Regions from separate parts of the Homo sapiens genome. Here regions 2, 3 and 4 are each linked to region 1. The links are contacts of gene promoters, found by promoter capture Hi-C in blood cells and fetal thymus (Javierre and others, 2016). All regions are on one chromosome and are shown on one strand. Each heading gives the region's core, a stretch centred on a gene start or on the middle of the fragment in contact. The rest is flanking DNA. Distances are from core to core; before and after follow the strand shown. Region 1 holds the start of GPR87 (G protein-coupled receptor 87). Region 2 overlaps LOC107986047 (a long non-coding RNA gene). Region 3 overlaps AADACL2-AS1 (AADACL2 antisense RNA 1). Region 4 overlaps AADACL2-AS1 (AADACL2 antisense RNA 1).

Region 1 (2,716 bases), core at 96-2,595:
CCCAAAGCAGAATGTAAAAAAAAAAAAAATTAAAATTGTAGGTGTCTGTTTTTGTATGGTTAGGAAGCAGATAGGAAAATACAAAAAATATAATTTTGATACCCAACTCTTGATTTTTAAGTTAAACACCCATTTGTTTTTCTGTAAAAACATAAGGAAAATCAACTAGTACGTACACATTATTTCCTTAAGACACAAGTAAACACTAAGTAATACCTATTATAGATTTATTCACTCCAAAAAAGTTTTCACCTTTGATTATTTTCATTTATCTTCATCCACAATAACAGGTTTTGATTCCATTTGATGAAATTTTATTTTTTTAAATGTATTTAAATGTTGCATTCAAGAAAATATCAGAATCTTTGAGATTCTCATCTGAAAGCAAGAAAATTATTTACAAATCAGAAAAAGTGGCCGGGCGCAGTGGCTCACACATGTAATCCCAGCACTTTGGGAGGCTGAGGCGGGCGGATCATGAGGTCAGGAGTTCAGGACCAGCCTGGCCAACATAGAGAAACCCCGTCTCTACTAAAAATACAAAAAATTAGCCGGGTGTAGTCGTGGGCACCTGTAATCCTACCTACTCAGGAGGCTGAGGCAGGAGAATCACTTGAATCCGGGAGGTGGAGGTTGCAGCAAGCTGAGATCATGCCACTGCATACCAGCCCGGGCAACAGTGTGAGACTCCGTCTCACAAAAAAAAAAAAAAAAAAAAAAAAAAAAAAGTGATATGATTATATAAATTTGTCATTGTTGGATGCTTTTTTAAAGCAATAAAATAAATTGTTTTATGTTAAAGGTCAGCATTCAAAGGAGTCAGTGAACCCAGCCCCTGAATAATTTAACATATTTTGAATACTTATCATTGTGTATGTGTAAAAATATGTCTATTGTGTATGTGTAAAAATATGTCTACAGATTTCATTAGTTTCATAAGACTACAAGTTTCCAAAGTTATCAATTACAACAATACTCTTTAAATAATATGTAGAATAATATTTTCAAAGAATTCATCTGTCATAAAGCATATTCTTATTTCTTTTAATCCAAAATTTAATTGGCAGGAAGGCTGCAAATACATGTTTTCTAGATAGCAATAGGAGGCTGGAAAAAAAAAATGACCTAAAAATTGGATCTGATGAGTTAGTAGGCCCCAACCCGAGACTTCATCCCCCACTCCTTAAGCAGACTTCTGGCAGTCTAAGCTCCAGCCCTCTGTGTTTCCTTCAGGTGAATCACCATCTGATTCCTGCAGGTTCAGGAAATACTCTTCCCCAGTCGACAAATCTCACCTACTCTTAGTTATGAGTCATTTACATTAGCAAGAGAGCAAGTTGTTCCAGTAGTCGCCTGGCAGGAGAATTTGAAAGGGTGCCCCAAAGGACAATCTCTAAAGGGGTAAGGGAGATACCTACCTTGTCTGGTAGGGGAGATGTTTCGTTTTCATGCTTTACCAGAAAATCCACTTCCCTGCCGACCTTAGTTTCAAAGCTTATTCTTAATTAGAGACAAGAAACCTGTTTCAACTTGAAGACACCGTATGAGGTGAATGGACAGCCAGCCACCACAATGAAAGGTAAACGAAAAATTTTTCATTTTCTTAAAAGCCGTGGTTGATAAGACACAGCAATGATTAAAAACTGTAATTATACTTCTGCTTAACTCTGAGGTTTGAAGAAAAACTAGAAATTAGAATGCTGACAGTAAGATATGAGGCACCACTGTGAGCCATGAAGCTTCAACTGTTTCCAGCTCAGGCAGGCAGAAATATAAACTACATATTGTGCCTTCAAAAGTAGAAACAATGTTTTGGCAATCACTCCTATTTAGTACATTTTTTTTTAAACCACATTTACTTTATTAGATGAGTAAAAGTCAAAGTCTCTTATAATTGTTTCCCAGGACCCAAAACTTAAAATTTGTTTCATAATCGTTTATCCGTATTGTTTTTTTTTAAAGAGAGAGACAAAGATTTTTCTCTTTCCCAACTGTCTCATTTTGATAAAATAATCTCAGTCTTTTCATTGTACCACAAAGAACAGGGCAATCCTCATTCTGATCCCTGGAGAAGTCATGTTAAAACATGTCAGGAAAGGCACTGAGAAAACTGCCCAGTGACTGACAAACAGGTTAGGAACAGCTTACTGTTGTTCCACATTCAAACTGTTTGGGAAGTTTTCACTGCAATGAGGAAAACAAGAAGCAAGCATGGAGATCTCAGTTCTTTTAAATTTTAATAAGGACTTTTAAAAGATAGATGAGCCTAAAGTAGAGTGACTTTTTGATTTCTTATTTTAAGATTTATCTGCTATGGAATTTTACATCACATTCTCAAGTTGAATCTGCTTTTATTTTAGGTATATTAACATTTTTAACAAGAGATTTCTTTCATAATTGTTCTCCAATTTACTAGCAATATGAACAGCAACAAATCTGGTTCTATATTACTTTATACTGGGGGGAAAAAAGCCAGACACCCTGTTGATATTTATTATTTCTGCCAATTGAGATTAACTGTCTCCATGAAGTTAGGGATCAAAGAGGCATATTCTCTTAATCCTTCAGCAACATCTCATCCTCAGACTCTTGTTTCTGACCTCTACTTGAAATGTGTTGCAGGTATACATGGGTTAAGGACAAGGGCCTAGAAGAGCAGATGGATGGCTGAATTTCATATTTAAGGATACAGCCTATAAAAAGAAAGTATCCCGCC
Region 2 (2,700 bases), core at 110-2,609, 630 kb before region 1:
ATGATTCAAAATAATATGAGTCAAAGAAAATGTTTCAAGAGAAATTAGAACACATTTTGAATGAAAATGCAACATAACAAATTAAGTCAAATTTAGTTAAAGCAATGCACAAAGGGAAGATGTGTAACAGTAAATACATACATTATAAAAGGAGGAAAGTCTCTGTAATCTCAATTTCCGGTATAAGAAACTATAAAAACAATAGTAAAATAAGAAGCAGAAGAAAATACAGTTATGTGTCACAACAGTATTTTGGTCAATGATGGACTGCATGTACGACAGTAGTCCCAAAAGATTATAATGGAGCAGGAAAATTCCTATCACCTAGTTGACATTGTAGGTCCCAGTGCATTGCATGAACTTTGCTATATCTGTGTATCTAAACATAGATACACAAGTGCCATTCTGTTGTGGTTGCCTGCAGTATTCAGTAGAGCAACATACTGTATAGGTTTGTAGCCTAGCAGCAATAGGCATACCATATAGCCTAGTGCTATATCAGATGTGCAGGAGGTCATACCATCTAGGTTTGTGTAAATACACTCTGATGTTTGTACAACAAAATTGCCTAACAATGCATTTCTCAGAGCATATCCCTGTCGTTAAGCAATGCATCTTGTAATACATATAAGAACAGAAATTGTTAAAATTGAAAACAGAAAACAATAAACAAATTTTTCTTTTTCTTTTCTTTTCTTTTTTTTTTTTTTTTTTTTTTGAGACGGAGTCTCTCTCTGTCCCCCAGGCTGGAGAGCAGTGGCCAGGCCTCAACTCACTGCAAGCTCCGCCTCCAGGGTTCACGCCATTCTCCTGCCTCAGCTTCCTGAGTAGCTGGGACTACAGGCGGCGCCACCACGCCTGGCTAATTTTTTGTATTTTTAGTAGAGACGGGGTTTCACCGTGTTAGCCAGGATGGTCTCGATCTCCTGACCTCGTGATCTGTCCACCTCCGCCTCCCAAAGTGCTGGGATTACAGGCGTGAGCCACCGCGCCTGGCCAATGAACAAATTTTTTAAATTGTGCTTTAAAAAAAAAAAAAGCAAGACCAATAAACTTAATAAATATCTACAATGATTAACAAAGAAAAAAATAGAGGATGTAAATTACCAATACTAGGAAAGAGAGAGAGGATTTCGTTACAAAATCCAAAGATATCAAAAGAATAATAACAGAGAATTTCAAGATAAATAGGCAACTCAACTAGTCCTCTGTCTATTAAAGAAGCTGATTTTATACTTAAAAGTTCCTAAAAAAGAAGTATCCAGAACAAAAAAGCAAGACAAAGACTAACATGTTTAACAATTCAAAAGAAACACAAAATTCTCAATACAGTGGTCTCCCCCTTATCCTCAGGGGATATGTTCCAAGATCCCTAGTGGACGACTGAAACTGAGGATGCTACTAAACCGTGTGTGTGTGTGTGTGTGTGTGTGTGTGTACACACTATGTTTCCCTCCCATAAATACATACCTATGATAAAGTTTAATTTACAAAGTAGGCAGGGTAATATATTCACAACAATAACTAATAATAAAATAGAATAATTAAATGTTATGCTGTAATACAAGTTAGGTGAATGTGGTCTCTTTCTCTCTCTCAAAATATCTCATTGTACTCTACTCACTTACATTCAAACTATGGAATATGAGAAGATGCCTAACTTCACTAGCAATAAAAAAGCAAGTTAGAACCACAAGAGTTACCATGTCTTACCCAATCTTTAGGTGAAAAACTAAATCTGACACTGTCATGTTGGCATATATGTGGAGCAACAGGAACTTATGAATATTGGTGGTATGATGTATAAATTGGCCCAAACATTTAAAAAATAGATCAACATTTCATAGGAAGTTTGAATATGCTCATAATATATGATCTAAGGATTTCACTCCTGGAATAAATGTATAAAAATTAATAACATATTACAGGAAATAACCAAAATGTCCGACAATGGTAGAATGGAAAATACATTGTAGACTGGTTTTAAGGTGGAACACTGTTCAGCAGGGAAACTGAATGAGAGACAGTTACATGTGAGCTTTGCCCAGTGAATCTACCCAAACCTCATATTGAATGAAATAAGTAAGACATAGACATTATAGTGTAGGAATTCATATTCATAAGGTTCAAAAATAGGAGAAATATATCCATAAGTGGTAAAATCATTTAAAGCCGAAAGAACGTGGGATGATTATTATAAAAGTCAAAATGACGAAAACCTCTGTTTGTAGGATGGGAAGGTGATATAATTGGGAAGATGTATAGAGGATTTGGAAAAAACTGGCCAGTCTCTATTTCTTAACCTCAGCAGTGGACACATAGGTGCATCATTTACTAAAATTATTTAAGTCAATATATGCATTTATATATTGTTTTGTATGAATGATATTTTCTAATAAATGGAAAATTGCAAAGTGAAATAAACCACTTTTTATGAAATACCGAAACTGAATTACTGTGCTTGTCCAAAAAGCTGCATCCTGATGTGGGATATTTGGTTATAATTTTTCTCATTCTAACACATTCCAGTTTTGAACTCTTGACTCTTTGAAATGCCAAATGTAATTATAATGCGGTATTTTGTTTAAGCATGTGCAATTAAAAGGGCACCATTGAATTGTGGTAGTGTGTAATGTTTCCCAGCTGCTAAAGGTAGAGGACATAATTTTATGATGTGTATTTGCTCCTACCAAAGACTCT
Region 3 (2,700 bases), core at 130-2,629, 540 kb before region 1:
GTCTCAGCTACTTGGGAGGCAGTAGTATCACTTGAGCCTAGGAGTTTGAGTCAGAGGGAGACTCTGTGTCAAAAAACAAAACAAAAAAGACAACAGCCTGGGCAACATAGTAAGACCCTCATCTCTAATAATAATTAAAAAAATTCAGTGCCATTCGGTCTTTTACAAGCAATAATTTTTGCACCTTGCATCTAGTTTCTCTTCCCCTACTGGTTTTAAGTTTGGTGTTAATATACCTTAGGGTAAGTATTTTTTATTGAATGTGCTGGGCACTTAGTAGGGCCTTTATGTGTGGAAATACACCTACTTTCATTGGTGAATTGATTATCTTTTCTTCCTTTTAGGGGCTGAATTCACCACCACCACCAAATTCACATGCTGAATTCTTAATCCCCAGTACATCAGAATGTGATTGCATTTGGAGAGCGAATCTTTAAAGAAAAAACTAAGTTAAAATGAGGTCACTAGGGTATGCCCTAATCCAATGTGACTGTAGTATTTATAAGAAGAGGTGATCAGGACACGGACACACACAGAAACAATGGTTAGGTGGAGGGGGCGGGGTGTAAAGACAGAGGGATTTGATGAAAACATTCATAAGGTATTAAATTTACAGAAGACTGGATATGAATTTTCAGGATAAATTAAAATAAATAAGTGGTCACCGGTCTTGGTGACAACAGGCCCATGAAAGACAGATAACAGAAAATTAACTGAGAATGTATGTGCTGAATCACCACAGCTCCAGGCTACTTGCACTGCTTGCTTTTAAATACCATGGCATCAGATATGCCCATTTCGGCAAAATATTGGAACCAAGCCAACAGTTAACAGCATTGATTGATTTTTCCTAAGTAGCTTACCCACTGTCTGAATACCACTGAGTTTCAAAAAACCTTGCATATCAAACTCCTAAGACAATCTGGTTTTTCTATGGCCATGTTTTCTAGCCGTTAATAGGCATGTGCTGTTTCAGCTTTCTCAAGTCTTACTATATTCCAAAACCATGTAGATCTCTTTTTCTCCATTTCTGTTATCCTTCTCTTGGGGATTTATATGATGCAATTTCTTCATCCTCATCTAGTGGTATTTCTTGAAGTTGCAGAGAAATTTATATTTGCCCAATGCTCTGTGTAAAGTAAAATAATCACAGATCTATGGGGAAGGTGCATCACCTCTTCCAATCAGATGCTGAATGAGAAGTAGCTTATTAAATTTACTTGTAAGCCAAAGTCGACATTTATATACTTCATTTCTACCATGTTTTAAACTAAAATCAGTATTAATCAAATTTTGCCAGGCACAGTGGCTCTTGCCTGTAATCTCAGCACTTTGGAAGGCAGAGGTGGGCGGATTGCTTGAGGCCAGGAGTTGGAGACCAGCCCCAGCAACATGGCGAAACCCTGGCTCTACAAAAGATACAAAATTTAGCCACTGGTAGACATCTCTAGAGGTTTATTTGGGTTGACACAGGAAAATAACTGATACGTGTAAAGTAAAATCATTTTGTATTCATAAAAATCACTTATAAACATTATTTATATTATGGCAAGGAAAGTTGCTCTTAATATAATCTTAATAGTCAGAGGTGTAAATGCTATAGAATTTCTGTGAAACTTAGAAACAGATTCAAATATATATATACATTATTGATATCACCTTGTAATGCATGACATGTTTCATAACATTAGTGACATGTCCTGTGCGTTATGCCTCACTAGCAATGCATAGGTCAAGGTGCTGTGCAAAACCACCGTGAAGACCGTCCATCCACACGGTATTTCCATCAAACCTGCACATGTGTCTGCGATGTGCTGGCTCACGTCATGTGTCTCATTTTTACTGAGTAAAATTTCTTTTTTGGCACATTATGGAGAAAAATAAGTAGGTTCATTTTGTTAAAAAAAAAAGAAACTTTATCTATGTTTCTATATTTTATGGCCAATCTGTGCATTCTCATTTCATAATAAAATAAAATTAGAACACTACACTATATGAAATAACAGAAAAGAGCATTGGCTTCAGAATCTTCAAATCTGGGATTAGGTTCTGACTGCACTCAAATGTGTTTTTCCACCTCTACCAGCCTCAGATGTTCATCTGTAATCAGGTCTTCATCTGTAAAATAAATTTGCTTGGTGGGGGTAGGGGAGTATCAAATCAGATAGTTTACGACATTTGAAATGCTTTAGACTATAAACTACTACAACATTGCTCCTATTATTGAAATTTAACAGTATTTTATCAAACAACACTTTGATTTGTGATGAAAACCTGGGCAAATTAAAAGATTTCTAACTACTAACTACTAGAAACACAAATTTATTGTGGAATCATTTGAGCAAAGGCTGGATCTGTGGCCATGGCACTGGGATTTACTGGAAAGAGGCACCAGAAAACTTTTTGGGAGGTGATGATAGTAATTTTCTGAAACTTGATAGAGATAGGGTTGGGGTTGCCTAAGTGTGATGCTTAATACTGAATGTCAATCTGACTGGATTCAAGGATACAAAGTATTGATCCTGGGTGTGTCTGTGAGGGTGTTGCCAAAGGAGATTAACATTTGAATCAGTGGGCTGGGAAATGCAGACACGGCCTTAATCTGGGTGGGCACAATCTAGTCAGCTGCCAGCATGGCTAGAATATAAGCAGGCAGAAAAATGTGAAAAGAGAGACTGGCCTAGCCTCCCAGCCTACATC
Region 4 (2,700 bases), core at 7-2,506, 600 kb before region 1:
TGCTGACTAATTGATTTTAGCTTGATGTAAACGATTTCAGACTTCTGACTTCTAGAATTTTAAGATAATATATTTGTGTTGTTTTAAGACACCAAGTTTGTAGTAATTTGCTATAGTGGTCAGTAGAAAAAGAATACATACGTGAATCCAGACAGTCACAGTGGAGCAACTTATCTGGAGCAGAAGCCATTAGCACCATAAGCTGGCAGAAAAACTAAAATATTAATTTTAACAAATTCCTAGAGGTTGAGTATGGATTATTTGAGAGCAAAAAACTCCTAGAGGTCCCAATCTTAGAGAGGCTTCAACAATTTTATGGGTTTTTACCTCTGGGAACCCCTCCAGGTTCTCATGGTAAATATTCATGAAAGTTTCCCTTGTGGCACTAGCAGGGGAAAGAAAAACTAGTCAATGTAAAATATACCCACAGCCTCCTCCATAATGGACTACGCTGCAGATAAAAGGACTTTACCTGAGCCTTATCCAAGCTGGAAAAAAGCATTCCTCCCACTTTAGTTCCCTCTAGTGTTTCTGCCCCAACTAAGAGGGTACAAAAACTATACAACCGGAGAAATGCTTATGAAAGTCACAGCCCACAGACACAGGCTGACTAAAAGTGTGCGTTTTCATCCTAAGTATATAGAAGGCATCCCCTCACTGACACTTTACCACCACACCAGCAGGACTGCAATATAGTAACACTGGATTACATCGGAAAGAGCTGCAAGATGCAGACTCTCTGTGAGGAGGAGTACTTAGGGAATCCTAAAGTCAAGAAAGAAGACAAAAGCAAGGAGACTAGAAGAACATGAAGCCTCTGGCACCCACAGCTACAGCTGAGATTAAACACAGCCTAGATTCCAGCCAGATTAATGTAAATCCTGACAGTAAAGGACAGTTTATCTCAGTTATAATTACCCAATGCAACATGTTTGGCTTTCAGCAAAATAATTACCCAATGCAACATGTTTGGCTTTCAGCAAAAACTACAAGATGTACAAAAAGGCAAAACATGCGTGTACGCATGTGCGCACATATACACACTCACACATACACAGTCTGAAGAGACAAAGCAATCATAAGACCCAGACTCAAATGTAACACAGATGTTCGAATTTCAGACAGAAAATTTAAAATACCTATGATAAATATGTTAAGGGTTCTATATTTGTTAGCTAGGGCTGCCATAACATAGTACCATAGGCTGGGTAGTTTAAACAAGGGAATTTTATTTCGCTCTGGAGGTTAGAAGTCCAGGCTCAAGGTGCCTTCAGGTTTTTCTTCTTCTTAGGCTTGTCGCCATGACTCGCAGATGGCCACCTTCTTGCTGTGTCCTCACGTGATTTTTTCCTCTGTCTGTGTGCATCCTTAGTATCTCTGTGTGTTTGAATTTCCTCTTCTTATAAGGACACCAATCAGAAGGAAAGAGATAAAACTGTCTATATTCACAAATGATATAATTTTCTATTTTAAAATACCAATGAAATGACAATAAATTCCTGTAATTGATAAGTGTATATAAAAGGGTCACAGGATAGAAGGTTGAAAGTCAATTGATTTCTTATATACCAGCAATAAACAACTAAACATTAAAATTAGAAAAAGAGTCCATACCATTTACAGTAGCTCAACTACACAGATATAAATCTAATATAATATGTATAGAAAATGTGTGTAGGAAATGACAAAATATCAACAAATAAAATAAAGAAGACAAAAACATGGAGAAAGATGTGTTATATGTATATACAAAACACATATATATTTTCTTACTCTACAATCAGCAATCACATTCCTAGGTATTTACCCAACTTGTTTGAACAAACTTATGTGCGCTCAAAAATGTGCCCATAGTTGTCTATGAAAGAGAAACTCGTTACTCTATGTTTTTTTCTACACATTAGAAAAATTTGAACCATCTACAGTAGTCCCCACTTATTCCTTGTTTCACTTTTTGTTGTTTCAGTTACTCATGGTCAACTGTGGTCCAAAAATATGAGCTATTTTATTATATTTTACATGTAACTCTATGTGAACAATTGGAGGAAGTACTGGTTTAGGCCAGTGGTTCTTAAAAAGTGGTCCCAGAACCAGTAGCATCGTCATCTGGGAACCTGCTAGAACATCAAGTCATTGGAACTCACCCAGAGCTACTGAATCAGAAACTCTGGGTATAGGCCCAGAAACGTGTGTTGACAAGACTTCCAGGGGACTCTGATCAGCGAACATGTGAACAGTAGGAGGTTTCAGCAAAAGGAAAGCTCAGGATAGAAACCTTGCACCAACATGGGCTGTCTTTTGGTGTGAACATATATAGACATGTTTTTGTGCTTCCCTGGGGGTGCTGAAGAAGGCTGATGAGAGCCAAGAACCAGCAGGCCTGGAATGGCCCACAATGGTGAGGAGTAAATGTGCCAAGAGCAGAAACTGCAAGTAATCTCTTAAACTATGGGCTGGTGGAGGAGAGCATGACTGAGACTCAAGGTGTATTAGTTTGTTCTCACACTGCTAATAAAGACATACCTTAGACTGGGTAATTTATAAAGGAAAGAGCTTCAATGGACTGACAGTTCAGCATAGCTGGGGAGCCTCACAATCATGGTGGAAGGCAAAGGAGAAGCAAAGGCATGCCTTACATAGTGGCAGGTAAAAGAGCTTATGCAGGGGATCTCCCATTTATAAAACCATCAGATTTCGTGA

What was found. Contacts are between HindIII fragments. The CHiCAGO score rates a contact against its expected background, and 5 or more counts as called.
Region 2: a contact is called between a fragment that was not itself captured here and the fragment with the promoter of GPR87 in region 1, in 1 of 17 cell types (neutrophils). The highest score is 6.2, in neutrophils.
Region 3: a fragment that was not itself captured here is called in contact with the fragment with the promoter of GPR87 in region 1 in 1 of 17 cell types (neutrophils); the score reaches 8.7 in neutrophils.
Region 4: a fragment that was not itself captured here is called in contact with the fragment with the promoter of GPR87 in region 1 in 1 of 17 cell types (neutrophils); the score reaches 7.2 in neutrophils.

The regions. Positions count from the first base shown.
Region 1 is chr3:151,315,449-151,318,164 of GRCh38, reverse strand. It overlaps GPR87 (G protein-coupled receptor 87), which reads left to right and starts at 1,345. Exons shown (of 3, transcript NM_023915.4): 1 at 1,345-1,579. All of the region lies in intron 16 of MED12L (mediator complex subunit 12L), which reads right to left. RefSeq lists an enhancer at 760-1,959. The HindIII fragment of the contact is 4,276 bases long and covers 1-1,496 here.
Region 2 is chr3:151,941,519-151,944,218 of GRCh38, reverse strand. The region is part of intron 1 of LOC107986047 (a long non-coding RNA gene); the gene reads left to right. Among named protein-coding and RNA genes, the nearest start is that of AADACL2-AS1, 15 kb to the right of the region's middle. The HindIII fragment of the contact is 7,614 bases long and covers 1-2,700 here.
Region 3 is chr3:151,854,400-151,857,099 of GRCh38, reverse strand. The region is part of intron 1 of AADACL2-AS1 (AADACL2 antisense RNA 1); the gene reads left to right. Among named protein-coding and RNA genes, the nearest start is that of SUCNR1, 18 kb to the left of the region's middle. The HindIII fragment of the contact is 7,050 bases long and covers 1-2,700 here.
Region 4 is chr3:151,919,142-151,921,841 of GRCh38, reverse strand. The region is part of intron 1 of AADACL2-AS1 (AADACL2 antisense RNA 1); the gene reads left to right. Among named protein-coding and RNA genes, the nearest start is that of AADACL2-AS1, 7.7 kb to the left of the region's middle. The HindIII fragment of the contact is 3,389 bases long and covers 1-2,700 here.